Regions from separate parts of the Homo sapiens genome. Here region 1 is linked to region 2. The links are contacts of gene promoters, found by promoter capture Hi-C in blood cells and fetal thymus (Javierre and others, 2016). All regions are on one chromosome and are shown on one strand. The core of a region is centred on a gene start or on the middle of the fragment in contact, and the rest is flanking DNA. Distances in the headings are between cores, read along the strand shown. Region 1 overlaps ITGAM (integrin subunit alpha M). Region 2 holds the start of HSD3B7 (hydroxy-delta-5-steroid dehydrogenase, 3 beta- and steroid delta-isomerase 7).

Evidence for each region. The method cuts DNA at HindIII sites, captures the fragments that hold promoters and counts their contacts. A CHiCAGO score of 5 or more calls a contact.
Region 1: a contact is called between a fragment that was not itself captured here and the fragment with the promoter of HSD3B7 in region 2, in 1 of 17 cell types (neutrophils). The highest score is 6.2, in neutrophils.

The regions. Positions count from the first base shown.
Region 1 is chr16:31,268,000-31,272,434 of GRCh38, reverse strand. ITGAM (integrin subunit alpha M) reads right to left here. Exons shown (of 30, transcript NM_000632.4): 6 at 1,351-1,481; 7 at 443-588. Among named protein-coding and RNA genes, the nearest start is that of ITGAM, 10 kb to the right of the region's middle. RefSeq lists enhancers at 102-627, 628-1,153. The HindIII fragment of the contact is 3,863 bases long and covers 440-4,302 here.
Region 2 is chr16:30,982,187-30,986,456 of GRCh38, reverse strand. It overlaps HSD3B7 (hydroxy-delta-5-steroid dehydrogenase, 3 beta- and steroid delta-isomerase 7), which reads right to left and starts at 1,250. Exons shown (of 7, transcript NM_025193.4): 1 at 1,160-1,250; 2 at 633-804; 3 at 253-408; 4 at 1-34. The coding sequence starts at 798. SETD1A (SET domain containing 1A, histone lysine methyltransferase) reads right to left here. Exons shown (of 19, transcript NM_014712.3): 18 at 2,685-2,822; 19 at 1,793-2,607. The coding sequence ends at 2,434. RefSeq lists an enhancer at 1,269-1,781. The HindIII fragment of the contact is 29,451 bases long and covers 1-4,270 here.

The DNA of each region.
Region 1 (4,435 bases), core at 1,122-3,621, 280 kb before region 2:
ATATATATATAGTTAATTGGCCTTCAGGAAACCTCTCCCAGAGCACTGCACCAGCTCCCCAGCCCCTCTAGGACTCTCCAGTGCTTCTTGTACTTCTGTCCCAACCCCATCCTTGCCTCTACACCCACCTCAAAATCAGAGTGAACTTCCCAAAATGAGACATGGCGATATCTCACCACAGGCTGTAAAGCTGCCTTTGGCTCCCTGGCCTGAGCTGATCTTTGTAGCTTCCCTCCAGACACCTTTCCCTCACTTCCCCACTCCACTCCCACCTTTCACTCACAACTTGTCCTTTGATGAACACACCACGCACAGCCTCCCCACCTCTGCCGGTGGGGAAGCATCCTCTACCACCCCTGTCTGAACGGCTCCCTTCATCCATCAAAGCCCAGCTAAAAGTGTCTCCTCCTCCCTCCATCCTAAGGGAAAAGGGGAAGCTTACACCACTTTGCGGATGCCCGTGGCCGTGTGTGTCCGCCCAAGCAGCTGCGTTATTGGCTTCACCAGTGATCTTGGGTTAGGGTTGTTCTGGAACTCTTTGAAGGTAAAGTGAATCCGGAATTCTTCAGAGTACTGCATCAAAGAGAACTGCGGAGGGGGCGGCTGGTGTGATGCTGGAGAAGGTGCCCCCACCCCTCAGACATCTCCCAGCAAGCTCCACGAAGATCTTAAACACTCCACTCTCCAAATTCCTCCTCTGTGCTGCCCCTAATCCCCTGCCTCACCAGGACGGAGAGCTGCCAGCAGCTCCCATCTCTCCTCAATACTAGAACACGGCCAGCGGCCGGGAGCAGTGGCTCACACCTGTAATCCCAGCACTTTGGGAAGCCGAGGCGGGTGGATCACCTGAGGTCAGGAGTTTGAGACCAGCCTGGCCAAAATGGTGAAACCCCGTCTCTACTAAAAATACAAAAACTAGCCAGGCATGGTGGCATGCGCCTGTAATCCCCGCTACTCGGGAGGCTGAGGCAAGAGAATTGCTTGAACCCGGGAGGCGGAGGTTGCAGTGAGCCAAGATCACACCACTGCACTCCAGCCTGAGAGAAAGAGTGAGATTCTGTCTCAAAAAAATAAGAAATAAAAATGAAAATAGAACTCAGCCAGCAATGACACGTGGGCTTCATCTCCCATGCCAACCTTAACAATTAGAGCTGCCCGCTTTATAAAAGGCTGAAAGAATGCTGAGGCTGCATCCAACAGAGCAGAAAAGAGACTCAGGAAGGCAAACCATAATCGATCGTCAATTTGGCAATGTCTGCAGTTGAACTGGGAGGAGAACATGGTGGCCCGGTTGCCATGTATCTTCCAGCCCCGTGTGGGCTCTTCCCTAACCTACCCCTGGGCCCTCACCAAGGTTTTGGACTTTTTTAATTGCTCCATCACAGTTGAGACAAACTCCTTCATCCGCCGAAAGTCATGTGGGATGATGCTACCAGAGCCATCAATCAAGAAGGCAATGTCACTATCCTCTTGAGGACACCCTGGGGAAGGGGAAAAGAGTATGAATCAAGTAATTTGACACTTGGTGTTTTGGGTTTTTTTGCATGTCAGCCCTCTGCTGAACAATGAGAATATAGGACCCCGTCTCTATAAAAAATATAGATGTTAAATATATATATAAATTATGTATAATATATATATAATTTTTAACGTGTGTGTATATATATATATGTATACACACGTTAAAAACATATATATATATATATATATATATATATATATATATATATATATACACACACACACGTTAAAAATTAGTCAGGCATGTTGGCACATGCCTGTAGTCCCAGCTACTCAGGAGGCTGAGGGTGGGGGATCACTTCAGCCCAAAAGGTTGAGGCTTCAGTGAGCTATGATCACGCCATTGCACTCCAGCCTGGGCCACAGAGAAAGACCCTGTCTCTTAAAAATAAATAAATAAGTAAATAAACAAGGACAAAGTGGTATGGAAAATTTTCGTTAATTCTGCCCAAGGGAATCAGGGAATGTGGTGATGTTTGACTGAATCTTGAAGAACAGGAAATAATTTGCCCAGCTGGGCGAGGTGGCTCACACCTGTAATCCCAGCACTTTGGGAGGCTGAGGCAGGTGGATCACTTGAGATCAGGAGTTTGAGACCAGCCTGGCTGACATGGTGAAACCCTATCTCTATTAAAAATACAAAAAGTAGCTGAGATCGCACCACTGCACTCCAGCCTGGGTCACAGAGCAAGACTTCGAAGAAAAGGAAGAAAGGAAGAAAAAAAGGAAAGGAAAGGAAAGGAAAGGAAAGGAAAGGAAAGGAAAGGAAAGGAAAGCAAAGGAGGAAGGAAGGAAGGAAGGAAGGAAGGATTTGCCAGATATACAAAAGGAGTAGATTCTAGAAAAGGGAAGGGCACACACATATAAAGTGATGTGGAATGTGCTCCTCTGCCTTCTGCCCCATCCCCAAATCCACTTTCTACCCATTGCCGCTCAGCTCTGTGGCCTGGGAGGTCAACCTGCAGGGACCCCATCACCAGGACTCTGTTGCCCTCTGGATTCCCATTGGATTTGGCAGATGAGGGGGCTCAACAGAAGACTAGAGGGAGGAGGGCAGTGAGGTCCGGGTGTTCTCCCATTGAGGTTGTTTGGGGACAGCTATGTCCTTCACAAAAGACCAACTGTTCCTCAGAAGGAAGCCAGCTCCACATGACTCTCTCCAGACCCTGGTGAGCTCTCCCTCTCCTCAACCCATAAACCCAGGGGTGGCAACAGACCTGCTTGCCCAGGGCTTGGAAAGTCCCTGATGGCTCCCTTAGGCCTGTCACAGCTTTATAATTACTCCCTTTATAAATAAACCCCCCTCTTTGTAAATAAATCTTACTGAAACCGCCTTTGCAAAATTATGACTGAGACAGTGAAAGAGATCTAACTTAACTGATTCCATCTTGCTTCTAACCTCCAAGCTGTCCGTGTTCATTCCTGGGTGTAGGCTGAGCTAACTTTGGGAGACACTTAGTTTATAGTTTATAGTTTATAGTTTAAACAAAGATCGTAACAGCCCTTTCCCAAAGCAGACCTCCTTCTTACCTGGGGACTAGATTGCCTTTGTAGGACTAACGTTAGCCACAAGATGAGAAATTATGATTTAGGAGTCATGCAGCTGGAGGCTACAAGATTCTGACCCTCCCTAAACTGCTCCTAAAATCAGTGCTTGAGATATTTTGCAGACCTTGCACTTGATGGATCAGCTGGCACTGCCCAGATCAATAAACTGGTTCATCCGATCTTGCTGCCCCCACCCAGGAACCAACTGAACGCAAGAAGACAGCTCCGACTCCCGATGATTTCATCCCTGATCAATCAGCACTCCCAGCTCACTGGCTTCCCCCGCGACCTACCAAGTTATCCTCAAAAACTCTGCCCCCAAATGCTCGAGGAGACTGATTCGAGTGATAATAAAACTCTGGTCCCCTGCATAGCTGGCTCTGTGTGAATTATTCTTTCTCTATCGCAATTCTGCTGTCTTGATGAATCGGCTCTGTCTAGGCAGCAAGCAAGGTGAACCCCTTGGGCAGTTACATTACTGGAATGTGCTTTTGGTCCCAGTTGAGACTCCTACTGATATATGGGACAAGGGCCTCAAAAGGATTCTGGCAGAATCCAGGAATGCCGTTTGATGGAAACAGCACTACAGGGACAAACGTATGTGACGGCGATGGAGACACAGCGGTGGCATCAAGCAAAGAGCAGCGGGCAAGGGCCTTTCTACTCCAATAAGGAGCTCGACTTTATCTGTAGGCAATGGGGAGCCACAGAAGGTTCTTAGAAAAGGAAGTGAGATGATTTGTTTTGTATTTTAGAAAGACTGGCAGGGCACAGTGGCTCATGCCTGTAACCCCAGCACTTTGGGAGGCCTCCTGAATAGCTAAGACCACAGGCACACGCCACCATGCCTGGCTAATTGCATTTTTTGTAGAGATGGGGTCTCATTATGTTGTCTAGGCTGGTCCCAAACTCCTGGCCTCAAACAATCCTCCTGCCTTGACCTCCCAAAGTGCTGGAATTACAGGTGTGAGCTACCGCACCCTTTCGAATTTTGAACCAAGTGTATGTATTATATATTTTTTAATAAATGAAAACTTTTTTAAAGAAGTAGTCTTGAACCCTGAGAGTGAGGTCTAAAGAGGGAGAGGTAGAAGTGTTAGCTGAAGCCACAGAACTGGGTGATTTCAGGAAAGAAGAACACGTGGGTGAAAAGAGAACCCAGAACCCAGTGCCCCTAGGTGGAGAGGGAAGCTGGAGGCCAGCCGGGGGTGAAGAGAATGCACTCAGGAAGCTTGGGTGGTGAGGGTGAGGAGAGATGGCAGGAGATGAGGAGGAGACTGGAAGAGAGAAGATTGTTTTCATGGCTATCGATTGTGGTGGTTGATTGCTTTTCAGATACAGATAGAATGAAGAGTGTTTACAGCCA
Region 2 (4,270 bases), core at 1-2,500:
GTCTGCACACAAGCCTCGATCACGTTCCGGGTACCTGGCAGAGGAGGAGGCGTATCCAAGCTGCAGCTTCTTCCCTCTCTGCATCTTCCTCCTCCCCATCCCAGGTCCAGGGAAAACCATGACAGGTCAGGGGAGGCGGGGGCAGGGCTGTCAATAGGACAACTTGTCCCAGGGGAGTCACCGGAGGTCAAGGCCAAAGACAGAGTGGGGAACAAACAGGCAAGATGGCCAGGAGTGTCCAGAGCTCCTCACCCTGCACGTTGACCTCATGGATGGTCTTGGGACTGGCCCTGCCAAACACGTCTACCAGCCCAGCCGTGTGGATGACCACATGGGCTCCGGCCACAGCTGCTGCCACCTCATGGGCCTGGGTCACGTCCCCCTGGATGGCAGTCACCCTCACAGGCCCTGGCCGGGGTTGGAGGACACAGGCCATGTCAGAGCTGGGGCCAGAGGCCAGAGGCTGGGTTCATCTTCCACCCTGGAGTCACGTTCCCAATGTGACTCACTCGACCCATCCATGTGGACAGAAACCAGCATCATCTGTTCCACTGCAGGGGTGGGGATCCCAGCTTGGGAAGGGTTGGGGAAGCGTCCACACCCTCTCCACCACAAGCTCCCCCAACAAGAACCTGTCTTCAGCTCCTCCAGCCAGGGACCCAGGTGTTGGTCAAAGACCCGCAGCTCCCCGAGCCGGGGCTCCCGCTGCAGCAGCATTCGCACCACGTGCTCTCCCAGGAAGCCACAGCCCCCTGTGACCAGGTACACCAGCTTCTGGGCCTGTGCAGAGTCGGCCATGCCTGGCTGGGGAAGAGACCTTGGCTCATCCAGGGGCTGGCTGCCACCTGCTGCAACCACCTGTTACTGCTGGAGGTGCCCTGGAGCGGTGACGAGGCTGGCGTTTGCGGGGAGGGCAGAGCTGATCCTGGGAGCTGCAGCAACCAGGCCACCTGCCGTCTGCCCCTGCTGATGGCTGAGTTACGGAGAGAGGGGCGGGCTTGGGGTGCAGGAAGGGGTCAGGGTTTAGGGAGAGAGATTTGAAGGCAGTAAAAGGGTGGGGAGGCCAGGAGTTGAGGGAGGTGGAGGGAAGGTTATAGGAAGGTGGGAAGGGCCGGATGGAGGGAAAGGCCACCTGGGCACTGGCAGCGCCTCTGCCTACCTGCAGCCGCTATCCCAGGGTGCCCAGACTGGCCTGGAGGGGCCCTCTTCTTTCGTCCAGGGCTGGCCGGCCCGCACACCGTCCTTCCGCTGGCTCCTCCTTCTCCCTCCTGCCCCATTCCAGGAACAGAGACCCGCCCAGCCACAACCCCCACCACTCTTGCCCCAAGGCGCCCCCTGGCGGCCGCTCTGTGCTCCACTGGCATCTGGGTCCAGCGGAGAACTTGGTGGGGATGAAGCTCGAACTTGCAGAGTGGGCTGAAGGGGTCTGGGGCTGTGGGTGGAGCCAGCGGTGACCTCATCCCACAGTGTGACCTCAGGCCTTCCCTCCTGCTGGGCTTCCCAGGAGGCCGGAGGTCCAGCTGCAGCTGTGATTGTAGGAAGGGGAGGCCTGACCTTGGCACCACCCTGGCGGGCACTGGTGGGGTATTCCTGGTGCGGGTGCGGCTGCTGCAGCCTGTCAGGGGGTCCGAGACAGTCTCGGACTGTCTCTGCAGGTCTGGGCTCTTGCCTGAAGGCCCCTTTACCTGCCCCACACTTCAGGTACCCACTTTTCCCTCTCTTCAACTTGCACAACCCTCCGTGCCCTCTACCCCCAACCCCTCGCTCCTGCCCAAATACACCGACCAAACACTTTTGTACAATAAAGTTTAATCACAATTATAAAAATGTGGCGTCGGGTTTGCGCTATTAACATATGTACAGTCCAGCCCAGCAAAAGGGACCCACCCCGCCATCCTGGCCTGGCTGAGCCGGGGAGTGACACCAGGGTGGAAGGGTGACCCTCAGGGTCTGGCAGGAACAGATGAGGCAGGGTTCCAGGCACGGAGTCCCCAGGACTGGGGGTGCAGAGCCCCCCCAGGGGGAGAACATGGCCACTGCCCCAGAGACCCCTAAACTGGGGAGGGGTACACGCAGGGCGTAAGGGGAAGTCCCCATTAACACAAAGCAAGAGGACTGTGTAGCCCCCCAGGACAGAATCTGTACAGGCCGGCACCCCAGGTTTCCACAGGAAACAGCTGCTGGCTGCTACAAAACATTTACAGCTTCTTCTCCGCAAAGAAAAACAATCAGGGGGTGGTGGGCAGGGGTGACAGGAGAGGCAGAAGCTGCCTCCAGGGACTGAGGCTCCCTCGCTGGGCTTGGGGCCCCCAACCCCACGCTTGGAGATGGGGGCATGTGGGCCCTGCTGAGCCCACTAAGGCTGGGGGGGTGCTGGGAGCTCAGGGCACCAGGGGGAATAAATAGGGGTGTGGGCACCCATCCTGCCCCACCTCAGTTTAGGGAGCCCCGGCAGCTCTCTGTGCCACACAGACACGGGATCTTGTTGTCTTCCAGTGGGAACTTGTAGTCGTAGGTGATCTCCTCGTCCACGCCAATGGGCTGCTTGGAGTAGATCACGATCTTCTTCTGGGACTCGATGGTGATGACCTTGGCGTAGCAGTTAGGCTGCGGATGGAAGGGCGTGTGAGCCGTGGCCACCCCCACCGACCCCCAACTCCTGCCCCGGCTGGCCCCTGGCGCACCGTGCAGCAGTGGTTGATGAATCTGGCCAGGTTGCCACACTTGGTGGCATCGATGATGGTGTCGTGGTCCACCCGGAACAGGTAGCTGCTGCCAATGCCCTCCTGCACGTAGCGCTTCTCCCGCATGTCGGCCACCATCTGCCAGGGTGAGATGCGATGGTCAGGGAAGAGTCCCCCACTTCCTGCCCCTGAGCACGCCTGCCAGCCAGCACCCCAGGTCCACGCCCACCAGGCCTGGAGCTGCAGCTCTGCCTCCAGCTCCCGCTAACCCGGCACTGACTCTCTCGACTCTGCTTCCAGGAGCCCTCCCTCTTTGGGGCAGCATCCTAAGCCTCTGGTGGCCATTCTAAGTCACCCGCAGGGAACTCCAGGGAAATCTGCACTGGGTAAGAGAGCCACTGACTCCTTCGAGCATCTGCCTGGTCACAGTGGGGTCCCGGACTGCTGGGGCAAGTCTGGGGTTGGGGCAGCTCCTGAAATGACTGGCCATGTCACCAACGGCACCCTGCTCATCTCTCCTCCCTGGACCTCTCTCCAAAACAGGCACCTGTTGGCTGCCACCGGCTAATGCAAATGGCAGGCCGCCCATGTCAGGCCCCGCACCTCCGTGTGAGGAGCAACCCTTACTTCCCAGAAGACAGTGAGGAGCCTCTGCACGCCCTCCTCGGGTGACCTCACTCCCTTCCAGAGCCTCAGCCGCCAGCTATGTGGTGGGGACTCCTCCCAAACTTCCATTTCCAGCCAAAAGCCACCTCAGTGGAGCTGCTGGGCGTCATCCCCTAGATGTCCCTGGGGCATTGCAACCCCACATGTCCAGACTGGAGCTCATCTTGACCATATATTTGTTCTTCCTCCTCACACCCATCTCACTGGCCCTCCCATCATACTCCCAGCAGCTAAGAGCAGCACCGAGAGAGGGCCTCCCGTCCCCCTCACCCTCTCACTGCTGAGCCCAGCCAACCACCTTGCACCCAAAGCCTCCTCTCTGTCACCTCTGCTGCCACTGCTTGGGTCGGGCCACCCTTGCCTTTGCCTGGATACTGGTGTCAGCCTAGACATGGAGCTCACTAGCCATGGGGCCCTCTCCTGCGGAAGGACCCTCTCCTGCGGAAGGACCCTCTCCTGAAGAAAGCTCCGGGACTTTCCTCCTCTCTCACCACAGGCCCAAGTGGATTCACAGGCTCCCAAGCCCGTGCGGTCTGGGCTCTCTGTTCCCTCCAGCCACACGTCGCTGCCACTGACCCTGTTTTTTCTTTTCTTTTTTTTTTTTTTGAGACGGAGTCTTGCTCTGTCGCCCAGGCTGGAGTGCAATGGCGCGATCTTGGCTCACTGCAACCTCTGCCTCCCAGGTCCAAGCGATTCTCCTGCCTCAGCCTCCCTAGTAGCTGGGATTACAGGCGCCTGCCACCACGCCTGGCTAATTTTTGTATTTTTAGTAGAGACGGGGTTTTAGCATGCTGGCCAGGCTGGTCTCGAACTCCTGACCTCAGGTGATCTGCCTGCCTCAGCCTCCCAAAGTGCTCGGATTACAGGCATGAGCCACCGCGCCTGGCCATGGCCCTGGTTTCTAATGAGCCAAGCTGACC